Linked DNA regions of Homo sapiens: region 2 is linked to region 1. The links are contacts of gene promoters, found by promoter capture Hi-C in human tissues and cell types (Jung and others, 2019). All regions are on one chromosome and are shown on one strand. The core of a region is centred on a gene start or on the middle of the fragment in contact, and the rest is flanking DNA. Distances in the headings are between cores, read along the strand shown. Region 1 holds the start of NPY (neuropeptide Y). Region 2 has its middle 79 kb from the start of PALS2.

Region 1 (7,028 bases), core at 1,319-3,818:
GAATATAAAATATTATTGCTTTTTGCTAATTAAAATGATCAGATTTCAAGGGATCACAAACAACTACTATTTAATTCTGGCATTTTCATGTTTTTCAGATTCTATATAAATTGGGGCTTTTTCAAAAGTGTTTTAGGATGTTAAATACCTTTTTGATGAAACAGGAAAAAGCAAACTTTATTTTAAAAGTATAAATCTTCCCCCCTTTTGGATCCTTTCCAACTACTCCCTGACTTGTAAACAGTAAAAATATGGACTAAATAAATAAATATATAAACCCCACAATACTTTAAACATATAATTTAAACATGTTAACTAACATTAATGCTTCTAAAGGGCTTATCCTTTAGATACGGTCAAATGACTAAAATCATTTAATCTCAGTAATTAAAATAAGATATTAAATGATTTAGAACTAAGATCAACCAATTTTGAAAACAAAATTTAAATCCTATGTAATTTGTAAAATAGTTTGGATTTGATTTTTCCCTTAATTGTCAATGTTGAGAGTGAAAATATGGCATTTCATTTTGACTTTCGGAATGTTCAGAATAAAGTTTACAATTTCTCAGATTCCATGTAATCCCTGAATTCATCCTAAAGTTACTGGACCAACGTAAGTTTCTTCTTAATGAAATACCAAGTGGGCACTTTCTTTTCAGAATTCACCAGCTATAAAATAGGGAGACCTCTGCATTTTAGATAAACTGTTTTCAGGCTAAATCTCTAATTATTGGGACTAGAATTTTCAAATATGGGAGTGAGACTGCAAAAAAAACACAGTGAAGAAGAAAAGAAAATAGCTCTATTTGTCTTTTTCTAAATACTGTCATTCAATTAGCCCTGGGCAGGCCGGAAAGTCTGACAATGTCTGTGGCAACCCTGCAGTTTACTCCTTGGTTTGGTTTTCTTTGGTGGTCGTTCTGTTTCTCCTAGACACCTTGCTAGCGTTTCCCCCTACAGCATTTCTCTGGCGCATTCTTGCCCCTTTCACTGGGTACTTTCGAGATTTCTGGACCGGGCCCCACTGCCGTAAGAACCACAACAAACCATAAGAGGTGAGTGAGAGGAGATTGCCAGCCTACCAGCCTGGGGAACCTGAATCTGGGGATCACGACTCTGTGACTGTAGTTGCACAAAATGGAAGGTACCCATTTTGTGTAGAGTGTGCCCTGTACAAACATTTACCTAGAGCTGACTAAGTGCCTGATACTGTCCTGCCCTGGGATAGAGCGAAGGAAAAGAAACAATCCCTTTCCCTAACATCCCCAGGATCTCCTGGTGTGCAGGCACTGGCGCTCCCGGAATCGGTCCCGCGGTCCCACCCACCTCTGCCTGGTGATGAGGTTGATGTAGTGTCGCAGCGCCGAGTAGTATCTGGCCATGTCCTCCGCTGGTGCGTCCTCGCCCGGGTTGTCCGGCTTGGAGGGGTACGCCTCGGCCAGCGCACCCAGGCACACGAGCAGGGACAGGGCGAGGGTCAGTCCGGACAGCCCCAGTCGCTTGTTACCTAGCATCTGCAGGCACAGAAGGCTCAACGGACGGGCTTGGGGATTCAGAGCACCCACGCGCAGCACCTCCCTCCTCTGCCCCCCGCGCTCCTCCTCCTGCTACCACACGCGACCCCCAATCCGCTCTCGTCCCAGTCCCGCAGAGAGAACCCAGGAGTGGCTAGCACCACCTTGCGGGCTCCGGGCGCCGTCCGGTCGGGACCTGCCCCTCTGCTCCACCTGAAAACTTCGCGCAACTTCGTTCGAAGTCTCAGGGACCAAGAAGCGCGCGGCGAGAGTGCAAGGTGGGGGCCCCGCCAGTTTAGCATTCAAAACCGAATTGGAAGTTCTTCCTGCTGGGTCACTTTTCTCCCTTCTTGCCCAAACTCTTGTCTGGGAAGAAAAGTTTCTTCTCTGTTACTTCTGGTCTGCCTAGCTTCAGGGGATCAACGCTGACAGCAGAGATCACCTCGGGGTGACGACTGCGGTGGGGAAGGGGAAAGAGAATTGCTCCCTGGGCCAGAATTGCTCCAAAGAGATTTGGAGCCCAAGAATCCAGGGAGGTGGCAGGGCGCGGGGCTCTAGAGCTCCAGGGATTCCTCACTCGATGGCGCTGCCGGGGAAACCTTCCTACCGCGCACCGCTTCCTGGGCCTCAAGGCGGCGACCCGCAGGGAGACCGCCAGCTGCCTTGGGATAGCGGTCCCGGGTTCTCCCTCCATATCTGCTAAAAGGTAACTCAGAAGAACCGCCCAGCGGGAAGGGCCCGGGAGAAGGGCCGTGGACAATCAGAGGGGAGCAGAGGAACAAGTGGAATTTAGCCGCCAAGAGGGCTGGTCCGCGTCGGGGCGCGGAGCCGGCATAGTCCGCTGGGGAGTGGAGCGCGATCATCCCAGGGCCCCAGGGCTCCACAGAGCGGGAGGCTGCGTCTCTAGCAAGTTCGCGGGCGCCCCGTTCGCTCCCACCCCTAGACAGACGGGTCGTAGCACTCACGGTGGCTGGCGCGCGGGCGTGGCTGGGCGGCAAGTACTATGCTGTCGGGCGAGCGTCTCCGAGGGGTGAGAGCCAGCGGATGGGGTGCAGAGAGCGGGTCGCGACAGGGCTTTTATGGAGCTTCCTCGCCGCGGCAGGAGGGGCCTCGGGCAGTCACGCTTGGGTGACTCCCACCCGCCACTTCCCGCCCCTGAGTGGCGGGGGGAGGGGGCTGGAACCGCAGCCGCACGAGTGTCGACTTAGGGAGCCACCCACACCCCAACCCTCCCGCCCCAGGCACTGCCTGAAGAAGCGGGGCCTGGGACCGCGTGAGCGAGGCAGCGCACTCCGAGCGCGCTGGACAACACCAAAGCCCAAGTATCTGCCCTCGGGCAGTGCCCGATCCCTGCTTTCCTTCTTTCCTTCTTTCCTTCACGCCCCGTCTAGTCCTGCCAGAGATAGGAGCAGCCCAGACGATTCTTGTCTCCTGCCAACAGGACTACCAACCCACTGGGTGCCGGAGTAGGAAGCACCTGAATCCTCTTTGTGGTGGGGCATCTCCACGACTAGCGCGGCATCCTCGCCGGGCACAACTGCGCGCTGTTGGAGTGAGGCAACTGGGCGCACAGATTTTTCCTGTACTTAGAACAAGTCGGAGGCAGCTGCCGGAAGTCTCCGGCTAGAGGGTCCCAAAGCTGCGCTCCCCACCCCACCCCCGCCCGTGGTTTCAGGGGCTTCTGCCCCTTCTCTCAGCTGGTTTTTCTAGATCAGCCTTCCTCAAGTACTCGCTCAGACGCAGCGAGCCAGGCTCGGTCGAGACATGAGTGTGGCGACTCAAAATTCCCCAGAGGGGGAACACGGTAAACCTATTCCCCCAGTTTGCTGAAAAAGAGCCACGCTTCCAGCTTCTAGAGACTCTTTTAAGCTCAATTTTAAAAATATATATTTTTTCTTTTTTGGTCCAAAGTGACGGTGGTTAAATGAACAACAGTTTCTGTCTTATTTACTAACCCTTGTATAGTCCTATGTACGTTCAATTAACGTTGAGAATGTGGGTTCTGATTAAGATGAAACATGTTAAAAACGATGAACATTAATTTGCTCATCGCGTTAAACCTGTTGAATGAATATGCAAGATACAGAAACTATTATTACAGGATCAAGATTTTATGCAGTGGACTGAGATCTGAAAGTTCCGTGAATGAATGCTCCTGTATCTTTCTAAATAAAATGGCATTTTATTTCTAAATGAAATATAAGTCTGAATCTTTCTAAATAAAAAGGCATGTTGGGAAATTAAAGCATTAAGTTCCATGTTATTTTAATGCTAAAAGGACAAGTGATTCTGTTAAACTGACACTTAGTTTTTGTGCTGTTCCAACAGCATTGAATTAAATATCAAAAACCGTGAAGCAAACAATCCTTTGCATGTATGTGTTTGTGTGTTTGTGGGATCAAACTATAATTTTGGAGACCAACATCCCTTTCACTTGGCAACTGCTTCTCTTTCTGTATTACACAAACATATGCTGAGGACACAAAAATCAAGGCTCTCAGAGTTGCTCGGGGGTGCTTACAAGACACAGCCTTCGGTAAAAGTGCAAAACATCTTCTAACTTAGAGCTCTTCCTAGATAAAGGGAAAGTTACAGTCCACTTTTCAATAAAATAATCTTATTTTAGAGTGTATCACAGATTCATATCAATTAAAATCTGAACTTAAAATGTATCACTGAATTTGGGAAAAATTACTTCTAGGAAGGCCCACACCACTATTGAGAGAAGAACACTGTGGAGGCTTGATTAATTTAGCTTAAGATAATGTCATTGATTCTCAAGAATAAGAACTTATTCTGAGGGTTAAGGATTCAGAGAATAAAAAATAGGGGGTGATATGCCCTACATGTGCTTACATCCTTATCTCCTTTCTCTCCAGTCCAAGCCACATCCCCTGGCCAAAATACAAACAAAACCAACTGTTGGCAACTCAACCCTGCATCTTCTCCTAGCTGCTGAGCCATTTCTCTCCTTTGTTTCAAAGTCAAGTTGTTTATTTCTAACAGCTTTGTTAAGATAACATTGAGATACTGTTGAGCTTGTTGAGATTCAAAAGGAGGTGAATCAGTGGAGACTAGAGAAGGTAATGACCGAGAGAAGTCAAATAACCGGTAAAGGTCCATGTGGTTTGCAATTAGGAGGTCTTACTGATAGCAGGTTCATAGCTTGATTCAGATAGAACCTGGACCACATGAAACCCAGTGGTTTCATGACTAAACCTAAGGTAAAGAAGCAGAAGGAATGAATAGATACTGCTGAATATATACAAAGCTACAAATGTGTAAAATATTCAATTGGATATATTCTTACACATATGCATGTGTGTTATATGCTCAGGAAGCCATCACTGAAACCAAGAAAATGAAGATTATACATCACTTCCCCAAATTTCCACATGTACCTTTGTAATTCCTTCCTTTTGCCTCTTCCTCACCCCCTCCTCCATTGATCTGCTATCACTAGAGATTTGTTTGCGTTTTCTAGAATTGCACATAAATATAGTTCCACGGTAGGTACTCTTTGTCTGACTTCTTTCACTTAGCATCATTATTTTTGAATCCACTCACATTGTTAAATGTAGCAATAGTTTATTCTTTTTTATTGCTGGGCAGTATTTCATTATATGATATACTTCAAAATTTTTAATCAATTCTACTGCTCATGAATTTTTGGTTATTTTCACTTGAAACTTTTACGAATAAAGCTGCCTTGACATTCATATGCAAGTCTTTGTATGGACATAAAGCCTTTAATTCTCTTGGAAAATACTTAAAACCAGAATGGCTGAGTCAGACGGTGAGTGTATATTGGCCCACAGTTTGTTGGTGATCTGTTTTTGCTTCTGTTTTGCTCATTTTTTCCTTCATATTTTATTTTGGATAGTCTCTATTGCTATGTCTGTGAGTTCACTAATGTTTTCTTCTGTAATATCTGATTACTGCCAATCCTATCCAGTGTATTTTGCACCTTATACCTGGTAGCTTTCATCTCTAGAGTTTCAACTTGAATCTTTTTTTTAAGTTACAGGACAATATAAAGCAATGAATCTTTTTTATATCTTCCGTATCTAAACGTGTCCACTCTTCTCTCTAGCTTCTTGAATATACATTAATAATAACTTTTGTACTACTAACATCTGTGTGATTTTTGTATACTTTGGGTTGATTGATTTTTCTCCACATTATGGCTTATATTTTTCTTCTTCTTTGTGTGCCTGATAATTTTTGATAGGATGTCAGATATTGTGGATTTTACCTTGTTATTTGTTTTTTTGTCTTTCTATGACTGTTCTTGAGCTTGTTCTGAGACAATTAAAAATTTAAAGACAGTTTTATCCATTCAGGTCTTGGATGTGAGTTTTGTTAGGTGGGACCAGAGCTGGTTTTAGACTAGGTTTACTCTTTCCACACTTTGAGGCAAAATTCCTTCTTTTTACTTTAACTGGTAACTGACTTCCCCCCAACACGCACACCTCAAATTGCACAGCTCTCCCCTCTGGCTGTTCAGATAGACACTATTCCCAGCCCTTGGTCAGCATCAGACACAGTTTACCCTTATCTTTTTGTGTAGTTCTTTTCCTGGTCTCAGGTGGTTTGTTCTTGTGTATAATCTGATCAATAATCAACTAAATCCTCAAGGGGGACACCCTTCAGACTTTCAGAGTATTCTTTCTTTTACCTGATAATCTTCCTGTGGACACTAGCTGCCCTGGCTCCCTACACTTCCAGCCCCAGCTCCTTGGCCAGGATGATTCAATTCCTTCCTTCTGCACTGTAGCCTGGATGACTCCTTCAGGCAGTGTATTCTCATGCTGCTATGAAGAAATATCCAAGACTGGGTAATTTATAAAGGAAAGAGGTTTAATTGACTCACAGTTCTGTATGGCTGGAGAGCCCTCAGGAAACTTACAATTATGGTGGAAGGGGAAGCAAACACGTCCTTCTTCATATTGCAGCTGGAGAGAGAAGTGGCGAGCAAAGGGGAAAAAACCTTTTATAAAACCATCAGATCTTGTGAGAATTCACTCACTATCATGAGAACAGCAGCATGTAGGTAACTGCCCCCATGATTCAATTATCTCACACCAGGTCCCTCCCACAACACGTGGGGATTAAGGAAACTACAATTCAAGATGGGATTTGGGTGAGGACACAGCCAAACCATATCAGGCAGTGATCTGGGACCATTGTATGGCTCTTGTCATTTGTTTTCTATCTCTAAGATATTACTGTCCTTTACTGATGTCCAATGTTTTAAGTGTTGTTTCATCTATTTTTGTCTAGTGTTTTAGTTGTTTCAGCAGGGAGGGTAAATCCAGTTCCTGTTTCTTCATCTTGGCCAGAAGAGCAAGTCTTGTAGCAAGGCTTCTTTAAAAAGATGTTTCTATTCATTGTCTCTGGTTATTCACCATAGGTGTAGTCATGAAACCACTGTGATCTAGGTTCTATCTGAATCAAGTTATAAACCTGCTATCAGTAAGACCTTCTAATTGCAAACCACATGGATCTTTA
Region 2 (7,028 bases), core at 1,906-4,405, 210 kb before region 1:
GAACCTCCAAATTCAGAATCTTAGATTATAATTCTGGCTCTGACAATGACTTGTTGTGAAAACCGAGGAAAGGAACTCAATTTCTTTCTGTTAGCCCTCTAACATGGGGGCAAGTACTAAATTGGATGACAAGTTTTATGACCTACAGTGTGATGGCTAATAAATAGCATTTCGACATTTGATGTTACTTCCATAATAATCCCCAGCCTGCATTTAACGCTGTGCAAGGGGATGAGACTGAGGACATGGGCCCAGTGACAGTTTAAGAAAAGGCAATTTCTATGAAAAGCAAGTGCGAAGTGTGCCTCCCAAATAGGATTGCCAGATAAAATACAGGTCACCGAGTTAAATTTGAATTTCACATAATAACAGTTTTTTATTTTTAGTATAAGATAAGCATGCCTCAGAGATGGCGTAAAACACAGTTACCTTGAAAAAATATTTTTGTTTACCTAGAATACAAATTTAACTGGGTATCCTGGATATTTGCTTGTTGGCTAAATCTGGCAAGCCTACTCTAAAACAGAAGTATGACTCAAAAGGTGATAGGTGGAAGATGTTAGACACCAGGAGGCTCTCAGGTCAGAGAATTATTCTCAGGTGGAAAGTCTTGAGACTGGTTTGGGGGTGAGTTCCTAGAACAATTAGGACAACTGAGGCCTTGCTGTCCAGTTTGTGCTTTTAAACCGAGTCAGATTCAGTTCTTCTCATGTTCTCTCGCCTCTTCCTGCCCTACTGAAGTGGCCTCGTTGTCCGGGGTAAATACCCGAGGTTTGTTGCCTCATGCCAAGGAAATCAAGGACACGGACACATGTGGAGTGAGGTTAAGAGCAGAGGTTTAATAGGCAAAAGAAAGAGAAAGGAGAACAGCTCTCTCTCCTTGAGAGAGAGGGGCGCCTGAGTGGGACTTCTGGCCCATGGCGAGTGCACAGGGTTTTATAGACAGGCTTGAGGAGGCAGTGTCTGATTTACGTAGGGCCCAAAGATTGACTGGGCCAGGTATGACATTTACATAGTGCACAAGGAAGCCGGCCACCCCACCCTAATCTTTTATTATGCAAGTGGAGTCTCTGCTTGGCCGGTGCTATGTAGCCTGCTCCTTACTGTGCATGCGGTTGACAAGGAAAGGGGAAGATGGAGCCTCCATATTGGACATGCGTGGCCCCCAGGTAGCCCTTTCCTGTTAGCACAGCTGCTGGCATTCACCCATGCAAGTGCAGCTCGATTTTACAAGCTGCTCTTTGTTAGAAAACAAAATGATTTTGGGGCTGCTTTTCATTAAAAGGAAAACCTTACTAAGGACTTCCTTACCCTTACTATCTGCCTAAATAATTTCTTCTTAACTCCTATAGCACTTACTCAGAAAATGAATTAAAGTTAATTACTTCTCAGAAAACTTGTCGACTCAACCTTCATTCTACAAACATTTCACAGAGTGTGTACCATGTGAAACACTCTGCTGGTTGCTGAGGAGTAGGACAAGATGGGCATGGCCTCTGCCTTCATGGAGCACCTACTCAGGGAGTGCTAAGATCCCTTTGCACCTGGAGCTCTATCTGTCTCCTGGATTCAAACTCCAAACCACTCCCTTGTTTCCTACCTGCAATTTAGTATTATACCCACTAAGTACAAATTGGGTTCTACAGGTACAAGAGAAATAAAGATAAATAAAATGTAGTTCTTGAATGCAAGGAGCTTATGATGAAATGAGGCCCTTAGGCCAACAGCTACTGTATAGAAAAAGGTGGGCTATGGTAAGAACAATGAAAGGGACAGAGTGGAGCAGGGATCTTAAAAAATAATCATTGCATTAGTCTGTGGGCACTGAAAGGTTTCCTATAGCAATCCAACATGGGCTTGAGGAATGCCAAGCTATTCTCTCATAACTCTGGAATTTAGAATCATCAAGTTATGGAATCTTAGAATTGGAAGTGTCCTTAGACGTCTACATATCCAAAAATTCTTTCTATGGCCTCTGCTGAGCCTCATTTGGCTTTTGCTTGAATTCTTCTCACATCTTCCCAAGAAGTCCATTCCATTGATAGAAAACTAATTGTTAGAAATAACATTTCAAAACAGCTCGGTTGAAACCTGCTGTCTCTAAGCTTCCGTCATTGATTCTATACCTGCTGTTTTCCCTACTTACCACTTTAATCAAATACCTGAATGAAGATACAGAATAGCTTACTGATTTTTCCCATGATAGAAGCATAGGAGTGATGGCAAACACTACAAATGACTTAAAAAAATTCAAAACTAATAAGTGAAGATGTAATAGTAATATATGTAAAATCCTGCATTTAGATTCAAAACCATCAATTATAGAATGGGAGAGAATTGGCTTGGTAGAAGCGCCTGTGAAAGCAACCTAAGAGTTCAAATTAATTCTTAATTTAATATGAGCCAACAATATGATGTGACTGTTTAAAAAGCTAATAATCTTGGGCTGCACAGCTAGAACAGTGCCAAGATCATGGAAAGTAATAGCCCCAATATATTCTGCCTTGGTCAAATTATATTTATATGCTGTTTTCAACTTTGCATGCTACATTTTAAGAGGTGTATAGATACAAATGCTACCACTATTACATCTAGCAATAAGGGCATCTGCCCTGGTCACAGGTTTTAGAGGGCTCTACGTATGACAAACATTGATAGAGAAATACTTTTTTTCTTTATGTTTTATAGATTTTTTTGAAAATTGGATAACTGATCAAATGGAAATTTTGGTAAAGGGACACATGTGGGAACTGGACCCTACTCCAGCCTCACAGGAGGATGGAGGATGCTGGGATGAGCACATGATGGGGTACTTAGTGGGTAACGATATGGGGGGTGGCAGGGAAGTGCTGGGTAGAGAGCCCTGGTAAGGGCTCCACCCGTGGGCCTGTGCCCACGGACCTAAGTGGGGACAAGCATTCCTGTTTTTGTGCTCAAAAAGTTGCTTTTTGGCCCACCATGCCCTCCATCCTGTGCTCATATAAACCTGAGACCTTAAGCAGGCACAGACACAAGTGGCTGAACATTGAGAAGAGCAGAGGAACACATCAGCAGACACCAGCAGACACCGGCAGACACTGGCAGACCAGCAACAGTGGAACGACACAGACGCCCAAGAAAGTTAGGCCGGGGATGGTTGGAGAAGAGTCTGGCCACTGGGTGGCCAAACTCCAGGGGAACACCACCTTCCCACTCCATACCCCTTCCAGCTCCCCATATATCTCCCCATCTATCTGCCACCTCCACCACACAATAAAACCTTGCACTCAGCCTTTCAGCCCACATGTGATCTGATTCTTCTGGTACACTGGGCAAGAACTCAGGCTGTCACACTGGCCACCTGTCCTTGTGATAAGGCAGAGGGTCTATTAAGCTGACTAACACAAGCCATCTGCAGATGGTATAGCTGAAAGAGCATACTGTAACACGTGCCCACTTGGGCTTCAGGAGTCCTAGATGCTGCTGTGGGGCCAGAGCCCAAAAGCACTCTCCATGGCCTCTGCACCTGCCCATCTGCATGCTCCCCCTAGGGTTTGAGCAGCCAGGTGGGAAGCTAGCCACACCCCTGTCACATGCCCTGTGAGAGAGATAAGGAAACGCCCCCATCTCAGTACGACGGGGTAGTAGTTAGAAGAAAATCATAGCCTCTGTCTAGAAATCTGGCAAAGAGCTGGGCTGCTGTGTTTAATGTTGACCACCCCAAATACCCCAGAGTAGGTGTCTGGGCAGGCTGGGTTTCTCAGCTGACTGCACTTTTTTGAGGAGTAATTTTGGGAAGCCTTTTGAACTGCTTCTGTTGGAAAAGCAAGGCAGCCAAGGGAATTAGCCTGGGGCTCTCTATGGTGATAATGACCAGATGACCAGGCTTGTCCCTATCCTAGTGCCCGCCCTGGGCTCCTGGGCCCAGGAGCAGTTTCCATCTTGCCCCTATCCCAGCATATCAGTGCTCCCATCCAGGAAAGAGGATGGCTTTTTTAGCCTTTGCATTTCAAGGGTGATTCTCTGGGATGGCTGTGGGGCCTTGGGTGGAAACATGAGCTGGGCATGAGCCAAGCTCGACTTATAACTTCTAAATATTTAGACATACGATTAAGTGGCCTCCATTTATATTCTACTCAGCCTGTAAGTGTCAGATAAAACATTACAATTTCTCTAGTTTACAGGAAGAAGATTCCCTCTATTAAGGTTATATTAATGACCTCAAACAAAGGACTTGACCATCTGTATCCTTACCCTTCTTTTTTTCTTTTTTTCACAATTGAGTCATCTATGTAAAATACCTGACATACAGTAAGTGCTCAAAAACATTAGTTTTTTTCCCCTTTAACTTTCTTTTGTTCCCATCTTCCATGTACAACTACAAATATCAGCATTTTTCACAAGCTTCACCTTGATCTGAGCTCTGAAATTCTATTCACACAGGATCTTTTCTGTTTAGCCTTGATTCTGAGCCCCTTCTTCTAGTTTTTGCATGTCTTTTAAAAATAAGGACTACTTCCAAACTCTTGGATATCCACAGTGGTTTCCATAGATATTTCCCCCTTTCTTTCTCATCTAGAGTGTGTGCATGTGTGCCTGAAAGAGAGAGAGAGAGAGAAAGAATGAGAATGAAGGCAGGATTTTACTCCCTCAAATCCCCCTCTCTTTCTGAGACCTGTTATTTCCTTTTAGAGTCTCAAATCCTGGGTTTCATTATAAAACTTCCACATCTATCTTTTCTTTAGCCATTTGGAAAACAATTTAAAATATCAGTGTGCATATTTGAGTATGTTTTCCTTTGTATCAGGGTTCTCTGATTTTAGGTTATAGAAACAGACTCTGACACAAGAAAAAAATGTTGCCTGAAAGAATCCCTGAGGGTTCACAGATTTAAGGAGGAAGGATACCCCCGACCTTGAGAAGAGCAGTACTCAGACCAGCTCTTGGAATTTTAAAGAAATACTTGGTTATTGAGTGACTTGGCTCCAACTGCCTACTGTCTCTGCTCAGTGTGCTGGTTCCATGAAGCGAGACTCTGATTGGGCAGTGTGGTCAAGAGGAGTGAAGACCTGTAATTGGCAGCCTCTGTAGAACCTCAGAGGGCTTGGATAGGGCAGGTCCCTATGGAAAGGAATGCCAAGGGAGCAAATCCACACATACCCATCTCACATACTGAGCAATGTTTGAGATTATTGTTGAGGTCTCCATCACTTCAGTATTAAAAGTGTTCAGATTGAAGGCTAGAAAAATACATTTCTTTCATGAGCATTTGCTATCTGCTGTAAAATTCTCTGCCTCGCTTAAATATTTAAGACTTAGTTGAGGAAAGGAATATGAAGAATGGGAGAAAGAACAGGTTTGCCAAGTGTTGGGGGTGGGGAGAGAGGTTGGTGAGTGACTTTGGATCTGTTTAAAATGTCTTTGGGGCATGCAGGCAGGGCTGTCCAACAGCCAACTGGAAATATGGATCTTGAGCTCACGATAAAAATCAAGACTAAGACAATAGACTTGGAAGATAACTACATACTATTCATTCCATCTTTTAACTAGATACCCAAGAGCTATTATTAAATACCTACTTCATATCAGACACCATCCGGGGCTTGAATCACAAAGTCAAATAAGTCAAGGGGGGGCAATTTTAAAGAAGCATTTGGGAGACAATAGAGAAATAAATTAATAATTGTGATAAAGCATCTACTTGGGCAATGTTTGAGGTTTGTTAAAGATGCCAGGGGAATACAAAGGAGGGACACTGAAAGTGGTTCCTGATCCTCTGCTCTCACTTGCATTGATAGAATATATTCATACCCTTGACTCTGCTTTGATAGTAGAATCTGTCCCTATCCTGGGCCCATCCTGTGCCCCCTGCCCCACCTCTAGCCAGCCCCTTGAATGGTCTTTACCATTCTGTAGCCTCTCATAGTCCTGGAACTGACAATAAAACACCTTAGATGTAGAGATTTGGGCTAAAGATGACCTAATGATAATAAAGATATTTCGTTAAAAACATATTAAGAATATGCAGACATAGCCTGAAAAAGGCTATGTAAGACAGTATCTATTATTTTTTATAATTCTGTTCATTTCTTAACTTTCCTTAGTCAACCCCGTCTTTTTCAGCCCAATTAACTACTATGGCAGCATAGGTATACTTAAAAAAAAAATTCAGTGATCTAACTAGAATTACAATTTTAGTTGCACTATTTAACTTCATTAGGGTGCTGGAACAGAAGATCTAGAATAGAAATAATTCGGAATCCATTTTTAATTTTCTCTGCTACCAAATCTTTTTGAATGCTTATTTTTTCATTAGTTTTAAATACTTGTTCTGAACAGAGAGTACACCATAATGTTTTTGCAAAAAGTACTGACATCCTTTTTAGTACTAATGCTTAATCTGCATTATTTTTTCTGTTTAATTACATTGTATAAAAATTTACTATGCATTAGTCTTAAAAATGTTAATGGGTGTTTCATAATAGTCTGCTTTTTCCAATTATATAAAGTACCCCTTTCTTGGCCTTAATACTTTATTATATTTTAGCAGAATGCTTGATGTTTTGAAAAAGTACTTAAATATTTATGTATAAAGGTTTATTTATCAGTTTCTGGGGTAAATTTCAGTCTTAAAGTTCATGTACCTCTCCAAGTGAAGATGTCAAAATTAACCCATCAGCTTTAAAGGCAATTTTTAACGTCTTATCTTTCCTAGTCTACTATTTGTGGGGAGTCTGGACAATTGGGAATGAGAGTGAGAGACTGGGACAAGAATCAAGGTATCATGCTGCCTCAGTGACCACAAGTTCACATCAACCTACAAAGGTCCTTAGGAGAATGAGCTCTGTCCAGGCATTACACTATCAATATAGGGAGGCAATGTGGAGCCTGGGATATGAATGGCTCATGTACTCTGGTATTCATACACATCAGCACAGGCGTTTATAGGATCCCGCTCTTCTGAAGACCAGTAGCTCCTTATCATCCTTTTTCCCCCCTTAACTGCATTTCCATGGGTTTCCAATGTTTATCCTCTCCTTTAACATCCA

Evidence for each region. Contacts are between HindIII fragments. The study calls those that stand out against the background at their distance.
Region 2: a fragment that was not itself captured here is called in contact with the fragment with the promoter of NPY in region 1 in 1 of the 25 tissues and cell types used here (H1 embryonic stem cells).

The regions. Positions count from the first base shown.
Region 1 is chr7:24,279,730-24,286,757 of GRCh38, reverse strand. NPY (neuropeptide Y) reads right to left here and starts at 2,568. Exons shown (of 4, transcript NM_000905.4): 1 at 2,483-2,568; 2 at 1,330-1,517. The coding sequence starts at 1,517. All of the region lies in intron 2 of LOC107986777 (a long non-coding RNA gene), which reads left to right. The HindIII fragment of the contact is 14,633 bases long and covers 1-7,028 here.
Region 2 is chr7:24,491,117-24,498,144 of GRCh38, reverse strand. No RefSeq gene overlaps it. Among named protein-coding and RNA genes, the nearest start is that of PALS2, 79 kb to the left of the region's middle. The HindIII fragment of the contact is 5,765 bases long and covers 273-6,037 here.